Regions from separate parts of the Homo sapiens genome. Here region 1 is linked to region 2. Evidence: promoter capture Hi-C in human tissues and cell types (Jung and others, 2019). All regions are on one chromosome and are shown on one strand. Each heading gives the region's core, a stretch centred on a gene start or on the middle of the fragment in contact. The rest is flanking DNA. Distances are from core to core; before and after follow the strand shown. Region 1 has its middle 43 kb from the start of PHF21B. Region 2 holds the start of PHF21B (PHD finger protein 21B).

The links. Contacts are between HindIII fragments. The study calls those that stand out against the background at their distance.
Region 1: a contact is called between a fragment that was not itself captured here and the fragment with the promoter of PHF21B in region 2, in 2 of the 25 tissues and cell types used here (IMR-90 fibroblasts and pancreas).

What each region holds. Positions count from the first base shown.
Region 1 is chr22:45,051,187-45,055,424 of GRCh38, reverse strand. No RefSeq gene overlaps it. Among named protein-coding and RNA genes, the nearest start is that of PHF21B, 43 kb to the right of the region's middle. RefSeq lists enhancers at 1,081-1,884, 1,885-2,689, 2,690-3,493. The HindIII fragment of the contact is 6,724 bases long and covers 1-4,238 here.
Region 2 is chr22:45,007,058-45,011,688 of GRCh38, reverse strand. It overlaps PHF21B (PHD finger protein 21B), which reads left to right and starts at 1,684. Exons shown (of 13, transcript NM_138415.5): 1 at 1,684-2,193; 2 at 3,079-3,144. The coding sequence starts at 2,140. RefSeq lists an enhancer at 2,704-3,305. The HindIII fragment of the contact is 18,572 bases long and covers 1-4,631 here.

The DNA.
Region 1 (4,238 bases), core at 96-2,595, 44 kb before region 2:
ACAACCAGGTGTATAGAGTGATCTGGACTTGTTGAATCAGAATCCCTAGATTTGGAATGCAGAGACATCGTGGCTCTTTTCTGCTTAAGAACATGTTCCTGACCATTCAGGTCCAGCAGAGGAATGTGATCATGATTCGCTGCAGCCTCAGTCTCCCCGGTGTTGCCCAAATGTTCTTCCTATCTCGGACTCCCGAGTACCTGGGACTATTTGGACCTTCTTCCTCTGTTTTTTTTTTTGTTTGTTTTGTTTTTTTTTTTTTTGAGACGGAGTCTCACTCTGTCTCCCAGGATGGAGTGCAGTGGCGCGATCTTGGCTCACTGCAAGCTCCGCCTCCTGGGTTCACGCCATTCTCCTCCCTCAGCCTCCCGAGTAGCTGGGACTACAGGCACCCACCACCACGCCCGGCTAATTTTTTGTATTTTTATTAGAGACGGGGTTTCACCGTGTTAGCCAGGATGGTCTCGATTTCCTGACCTCATGATCCACCTGCCTCAGCCTCCCAAAGTGCTGGGATTACAGGCGTGAGCCACCGCGCCCGGCTTCCTCTGTTTTTTTTTTTTTCTAAGCCCAATTTCTGTTTGTTTCCACAGTACTAAGAGTAATTTGCTGCTGTTTTTCTTTATTCCTTTCTCTGTTCTCCTAATGCTCCTTCCTTCACACTGAAGTTGACCTTTTGGTTAATTTTTTGCCACGGTCCAGCCTGCGTGTGACGAACGGAAAAAGCAAGAGAAAGAGAGAGAGAAAGAAAGAAAGATCTTAATTTTGATATTAATTACCTTTAACCTGTTCACTCCCACTTATTTATGTATTGGTCTTTAATATTGTTTATTATATATGTAAAAAAAGAACCAGCTCCTTAGCGGAGCGCTTCTGTGTGGGAAGTCGTGGGACAGCTACTGTTCTGGGCTCTCCTCTCCCAGCTTCACTCTGTGCCCCCTTCTCTGTCTGGATGTGTCGTGTGTGTATGCCTGGCCTACAGCAGCTTCCAGCACTCCTAGGATGACCCAGGCAGCTCCTTTCCCTCCAGCCCCTCCCACCCCCTCCCAGTCCGCTGTCCCAAACGTGTTATAATGAAATACCTGAGACTGGGTAATTTATAAAGAAAAAGAGATTTATTGGACTCACAGTTCCACATGGCTGGGGAGGCCTCACAATCATGGCAGAAGGCAAAGGAGGAGCAAAGGCATATCTTACATGGTGGCAGGCAAGAGAATGTGTGCAGGGGAACTGCCCTTTATAAAACCATCAGATCTCATGAGACTTATTCACTATCATGAGAACAGCATTGGAAAACCTGCCCCCATGATTTAATTACCTCCCATTGGGTCCCTCCCATGACCTGTGGGAGCTATAATTCAAGATGAGATACGGGTGGGGACACAGCCAAACCATATCACAGCCCAACTTCTGGGTCTGTATGTCCTTTTGCTCAGAACTCCTCTTCCCTTGTATTTCAAATCTCAATCTCCCCTGAGGAGACCCAGATGATGTCAGGGGCCCTCAATATAGTCCCACAGTGCTAAGGACCTCTCCTTGGTGACATTTGTAAAGGCTGTATTTAAAAGCATGCATTTTCTTGAGTCCCTTCTATTCAGCCAAGGTGTCCTTTGCCTCAGGGGCAATTAGCATTGCTTCAGGAGGAACATCAAGAGAAAAGACTTGGGGCTTGGTTTTTGCATGCAAAGTAGGATTTGTTAGGCCTAGGGCAGAGTTGCTCAGCCTGGACACTGTGGACATTTGAGGTAAGATCCTGTAGGGCATCAGCAGCATCCTTGGCCTCTACCCACATTCAGATAGAGGGGCCACTCCTCGGCCTCCAAGTCCAGATGATTAAAAATGTCTCCAGACACCACCCAATGCCCCCTGGCAGGCAGAATCATCCCAGCTGAGAGCCCCTGATCTGGAGTAAGAACATAGTCTTGAAAGCCAACTTTTTATTTTTATGTTTTGGGCAAGAGAAGGATCTTCTAAAGCTCCCCTTTGTGAAAGGAAAATAAAAACTCAGGACCCCAATTCACTTGGCCAAAAGAAAGAAATTAGGCTGCAAGCTGAGTCATGCAAGAAGCTACCTTTCCTTTTGTTCCTAAGCAGAGAGCTACAGAGAAAAGGTTAAGTATCTCTCCAGGTAGCTAATCCAGTGTTCACCTTATCTTATGTAAAGTGCTGATTTACTGAGTGCCAGGCGAATACATGATTGACTACTCCCCTACCTGCTGCTTTTCCCTTGTAACATGTGGATTCAGTAACTACACCCTCCCTCTTTCTCCTCCAGTTCACTTTTCCCCTTTAAATATGGAAGCCCTCAAAATCATCTTTGGAGAAAGGCACAGACTTCTCTCTGGGGCATGTCCTTAATCTTGGCAAAATAAATTTCTAAATTAATTGAGACCCGTCTCAGATACTTTCTGGTTTACACCTTTATATGCCAAGAATACAGCCTCAGGAGGTCTTGAAGACATGTGCCCAAGGTGGTCAGAGGACAGTTTGGTTTTATACATTCTAGGGAGACAGAAGACATCAATCAACACGTGTGAGAGGAACATTGGTTCAGTCTGGAAAGGCAGGACAACTCGATGCAATGGTGGGAGGGAAGCAGGGAGGGGCTTAGGTAGATAAGAGACAAAAGGTTGCATTCTTTTGAGTTTCTGATGAGCCTCTCCAAAGGAGGCAATCAGATATGCATTTATCTCAGTGAGCAGAGGGGTGACTTTGAATAGAATGGGAGGCAGGTTGACCCTAAGCAGTTCCCAGCTCAACTTTTCCCTTTAGCTTAGTGATCTGGGGCCCCGAGATTTATTTTCCTTTCACAAGCCTGATGGACTGGGCCATGCCGCTTTTCAAGAAGCCATTGGAAGCAAGTATAGAAGCTTCGTCTTCTGTCGGAGAGAAGGGAGGCAGAAGTGTTCTGCCACAGCAGGGAGAGATGAGGGATGAGGCCAGGGTGGTGAGGATGGAATGAGGGTCCCTGAGAAGGGACCCAGCAATGCAGTCCCCTCCCTGGGAGGCCTGGAGGGCACCCCGAAGAGATGGACCTGTGAGTTGCTGCTTGAAGAGGGACCCGCAGCTGACCAAACAGAACAGAAAGACCGAAGAGTATTAGAGGCAGAGAGTGGAATGAACAGAGGCCACAACACAAGGAATCATTGTCCTATTTTCAGAGATCTCTGAGTTAGAGCCTGGGTCTTGGGGGAGGTGACAGAGAGCTGGGGCGGGCCTTACGGGGGGTGGAATCCCACACCCGTCATCCATGCCCGATGCGGCAGGCCCTGTGCCCAGGGCTCGGGTCCTAGGCTGGTCTCTGCTCCGTGCCGCTTCTGTTCTTAAGGGTGGAAAGAAGATGTGAGTGGATAAGCTTGGATGTGCTGCGGGCTCTAAGGTGATGGCCAAAGGACACACAGAGCTCTCCTGCAGGAGGAAAGGCAGAGCCTGGCTTGCAGAAGTGCAGGGTGACCTCCTGAGGAGGTTGAAGGAGGCTGGGCAAGTGCTCAGAAATCTGAAGGTGGTCCCATGAGAAATGGGGTGGACTGACGTGGGAGCCATGACTGCTGCCCAGGGCTTTGCTGTAGACAACCAGATAGAGGACAGGGGAGGGGCTGCTTGGGGGAGAGGGAGTGGGGACTTTTATTTGAACCTGAGATGCCCACTGAGAGTCCAGAGAGGTGACAAGAAGGAGCTGATGGCCACGCACAGTACTCAGGGAGAGATGCGGCTGAAGGGCATTTAGCCCAGGTGAGTCACGTGCTGGGGTGGCCAACCAGAGAGCAGAGGCTCAGGATGGGCAGAGGGGCCACCTGGCCATGGAGCCTGGGAAGGAGGGTGGGGAACAGTGGGAGCCGGGGGCCACGGGAAGAAGGGGGCAGTCCAGGAGTTGAGTGTTGCTGAGGACAGATGGGGACCACGAACATGGTGGCCCTGAGGTTGCGGTGGGACAGTGATGGCCAAAGCCAGGAGGGATGGGTTGGAGTGGGACGGGAGCAGGGGTGGAAAGAGCCAGCACCTGGGCCCCTCTTTATGGGGTGCATTGAAAGCCTTACATTGGGAGAGTAATGACTTACACTGAACTTCTGGAGTGGGCGCCCTGGTAAGAAGTGGAGGGCGTAGGATCCTGAGCGAGGTGGGTGGTGCGTGACCAGAGCCTCGGGAGGTGCCCCATGAAGAGGCCTCAGTCAGGGCTCATAGGGGTGCTTGGCCTCCGCTTACTTACTCTCTCAGCTGCATTCCATGGGGGACACCAC
Region 2 (4,631 bases), core at 435-2,934:
ATGTATATGATCCTTACCGTAACCCACATATTTAACCTACGTAATTAAATCAACAGAGGTTATTCAGGTCATCTTCGGCCCACACAGATTCAGGCAGATGCTGGCCGGAGGGTAGTGGCTCCTCCTGTTGAGTCTTTTCTGTTTGTTTGTTTGTTTTTTCTGAGACAGAGTCTTGCTCTGTTGCCCAGACTGGAGTGCTGTGGTGCAATCTCGGCTCACTGCAACCTCTGCCTCCTGGGTTGAAGCAACTCTCCTGCCTCAGCCTCCCGAGTAGCTGGGATTACAGGCTTGCGCCACCATGCCTAATTTTTTGTATTTTTAGTCGAGACCATGTTGGGCAGGCTGGTCTCGAACTCCTGACCTCGTGATCTGCCCACTTCGGCCTCCCAAAGTACTGGGATTACAGGTGTGAGCCACCGCCCCCGGCCGGCCTCCTATGGAGTCTTAAAGCGCTGTTTGCAAGTTTCTGTTAACTAATTTGGGTTAAAGTAAGGGTCATCTACATGCCCCTCTGCTTTTTGCATAGTTACTCATATCCTAAGTCTCACTCTGTCGTGCTCTGAAGGCGAGGTGCTGGGTTGTGGGATGAGGGGCCATCTGTGTTTGGGGGTCCCAAACACGTAATTTATTACAAATTCCCTAACAGAGAGCAGAACAACACTGGGGTCCTCACTTGAAAAAAAAAAAAAAAAGAAAAGAAAGAAAAGGGGGAATTCCAATAACTTCTGCCAACAAAAGCAATGTGTGACCTGTTGGCATATGTTGAAAGGGACATTTGCTGATGGTGCTTGCTTGGGTATTTTTTGTGCTGCCGGAGAGGAATCTGAAGTTAAAACGACTTAACAGCTTAAACGTTTACTTTGACATATGATTGCACCCTTTCTCCCCAGCGTGTTTCAAACGTGCCAGTTTGCTGCCAACAGGGCACCCGGCACTCCGACCTGAATGAAGATGGCAGCCCCGAGGTGGTGACAGTGACTCTGGGACATTAACCTCCTGGCTGCGCGGCTGGGGGTTCTGAAACGCGACCTCCGCAGCTGTAATTATAATTGTTTTAGGTCGCATTGACCGGGCCTGTTTACGACTCTTAACAAGAGTCTTAAAATGTCCAGTGACATCTGTTGAGAGTTTAATCGTGTAAAAAAAAATCATTAAAGGAAGAGCCAAGAGATCAATTTTCTTGCTGTTTAAACAACACGGAGGCCATCAGGCGGCGGGGGAATGTGGCGACGCGACTAATTTAATCCCCCAAGTCGCGGCGCTGGTATGGACAGGAGGGGACGGAAGAATTTAAATAAAATATCAGAGGGAGGCGGAGGAGGGGGGAAAGGAGGGAGCCGAGGACCAGGGTGAGGAGAAATGGAAACACGGACTCGCAGCCTCCCAGCGGAAAGTGTCCTGATCCCGGCGTTACACGGCGCAGGGGGTGGGGGCGCCGCGTTCCCCGGGTTGGCCCGGGGACGGAGAGGATGACTCCGCAGTCGTCCTCTCCGAGCGCCCGGCCCGAGCAGTCCCCGGAGCCGGCGACCGTGCGTCCCCGTCCACCGCCACTTTTGTTCTCCGCTCGGGGTGCCGGGCCGCGGCGGGGCGGCAGTGCGCAGGCGCGGGCGGGGCGGGGGCGGGGCGCGGCGGGCTGAGGGTCCCGGCACCGCCCCCCGCCGCCCCGGCCCGCTCCATCCGGGCACTGCCGAATTAGCATCGTGCCGAGGCACAACTTTGCCGAGGCCCAACGAGATCCAGGCGCGCGCGCCGGAGGAAATATAGTCCCTGCCCGCGGGAGGCTCGCGCGGGAGGAGGCGGCGGCGGCGGCGGCTGGGCGGGCGCGCGCGGGGCTGCGCGGGGCTCCCGGCGCCGGGGGGGCCATGCTCCGGGCCGCGCCGGCAGCCCGGGGACCCGGCGCAACTTGCCGGGCAGCCTGAGGAGTTGGGGCAGCCGAGGGCTCGGCGCCGCGGCGCCCGGAAGCCTGTCTTCCCCTTCGCCAGCCCCCTTCCCTTTCGGCCGTGGGGGAGGGGGCTCGTGTCCCCCCCAACCCAGCCCGGAGGCCGCGTCCGCCCGCGCCCGCTCTGGCCCCCGCGGAGCCGCGCAACTTCCCGGGAGCCCGGGCCAAAGTGAGCGCAAAGTGCTGCCCAAGTTGCCGGGATGGAGCTGCAGAGCCGGCCCGAGGCGCTCGCCGTGGAACTCGCGCGCCACCAGGTAGGTGGCCGGGGGCCGGGCCCGGGGCCGGGGAGTGTGTTGCGGGGTGAGGGGGTCGGGGGACCCGAGCCCAGCATCCTCTCTTCCGGGTCTCTGGGTCTTCCAGGCTGGAGCCTGCCCGGGGGCGGGGGGCGAGGGAGTGAGCACACGCGCGGACCCCCTTCTGGGCTCCCCTCCGCCTGCCCCTGGCGCTGTCCTGCACAGTTTGCGGGATCGAGGACGCGTGGGACCCGAGCCTGGAGTCTTCTCTTAAGCGATGTAGGGTCTGCATGACTGGGAGGGTGCCTGGAGGGGGCCCCTTCGTGAGCCGGTCCCGGGGAGGGGAGTGCGAATAGGCCCCCTTCCGGCCTCCCCTCGGGCCCCCGCGCCCCGGGCGAACCTGCCCGGTGTGCAGAAGTAGTTTTGGCGATCGCTGCTGGCGAGCGGCGGCGTGGCGGCCGGAGCCTGAGCGGGGCTCGGCGTGCGCGTGTGTGTGTTGGGGAGATTAGGACGCGACTTGAATATTTATGAGCTTTGCTCGACACGGACTCGCCGTGTTTACTTGGCTCTTTGTTCCTCCCCCCTCCCCCGGCACACACTCACACTCACACTCACTCGCACACGCACCCCGGCCTGCAAACTTGCACGGCTCGGGGCGCGCCGCCGGGTGGCCTCGGCCCCCGCCCCGCCCCGCGAGCTGCCCCGATGAGGCGGCAGCCACAGGTAAGCGGCCCCGCGCGGCACTGCCCGGCCGCCGCGCGTGCAGGACGCGGCCCGGGAAACTTGGGGTGCGCTGCGGCCGGCCCCGCCCGTGGGGCTCCGGGCGGGGGGTGCCGCGGCCCGCGGTGCTGGGGTGCACCTGACCCCGGGTGGCCTGCCTGAGCCCGCTCCTCCGTGTTTCCGCAGAACGGCGACCTCAAGAAGCAGCTCCACGAAAGGCAGCCGCGGATCGCCGCGCTCAGCGACAAACAAGTAAGCGATGGGATCGCGGCCCCCCCTGGGATGGGGCGGGAGGGTGGCTGGGCACTTTGGCGGCGCCCTAAAAAGTGCCAGCCTGGGCGACGCACGCTCAGACTCCCAGAGGGGTCTGTCTCCAGTTCTCAAAGTTCCCCACCCCTCCCCTTTCCTGGAAAGAAAGAGCCGGGTTCTCGGAGGCGGCAGGGAGAGCCGGGCCCTGCGGGGGCCGAAGAGAGGAGCTCACTTAAAAGGCAGCGCGCGGCCCGGCGTCCATTTTGAGGTGGTGGACATGTTTTTGGAACGTGGCGATTTCTCCCGGCTCGGAGTCCCCCGCTTTGCGCTGAGGCGGCCATGGGGGCGGAGGGGGGCGGCCGTGGGGGCCTGGACACCAAACTCGTTGGAAGCGATTTCTGGGTTCCGTGGCAAACCTCGTTTTGAAATCGTTCCTCGAGGCTCCCTCCCCCCCACCACCTTCCACTTCCCTAGCTTCACTTTTTATTCTTGGAACCTGACGCCAGCTCCCGGGGAACAAAAGAAACGCGCCCCCGGGACTCCCCAGTTCTGCTCCAACTTTGGGCTCCGGGCGTTAGGTGTAGTTGGGGACACCTGAGAAGCTCCCACGCGTCGGAGGCGCGACCGCTCCCCCCCCTCCGGGCCCCCTCCGGGGAGGAAAAGTTGTCCATTGTGACTTAGTTGCGCTGAGCTCAGCGCTCGGGGTTTCAGCACCACGAACAGATGCCGCCGCCAGAGCCCGGCCGGCCGCGCGCCCCCGCCCCCTGGCTCCCGCCCCTCCTCCGCTGCCCCTCCCCCGCCGCGCCCCCTCCCCGCACTCGCACACCCGCCCCTTCCCCGCGCTCGCACACCCGCCCCTTCCCCGCGCAGCCCCGAGCCGAGAACTTTGAGCGGCGCAGCCAATGGCGTGCTGGGGGCACCGCTGTGGCGGGCACGGGGGCGGCGGCGCCCCTCCCTCCCTCCGCTGCCCCCTCCCTCCCTCCTTCGCGCCCCGCCCCCGCCCGCGCCGCGCCCCCGGCCATCGATCGCGTTTCCTTCGGAATGCCGGCCGCAGCCGCCAGCGCCAAACTTGGACAGCTCCGGGCCCGCCCCCGCGCGCCCCCGCCCGGGCCTGCCCCCGCGCTCCCACCCCAGCCCGGGCCGCCGGATCGGACGCCCCCTCCCCCGGGGGATTTTCTGGCGTAGGGGAGAGACGTGGACGAGGTTGGGGCGGCTGCCGGTGACCCTGGCGAGAGAGAATTCGGAGGCCGGGCGTTCGTGTCGAGTCTTTAAAGTTAAAAAGTGATGGGAGGGGGCGTGCGCGAGTGGCGGGTTTTGGGGGGGGCCGGGCTTGCTGAAAGGAAGATGGCAGTGCCGCGGCCCGCGCCTGGTCTGGGCCGCCGGGCTGGACCGAAGGCTTGGGACAAATGCGCTAACCCTTTTCAGTTGGTGCCGCGGCCCCCCCGCCCCCGGCCGCGCGCCCCCGTCCGGGAGTGGAAGCTTCCATTCCC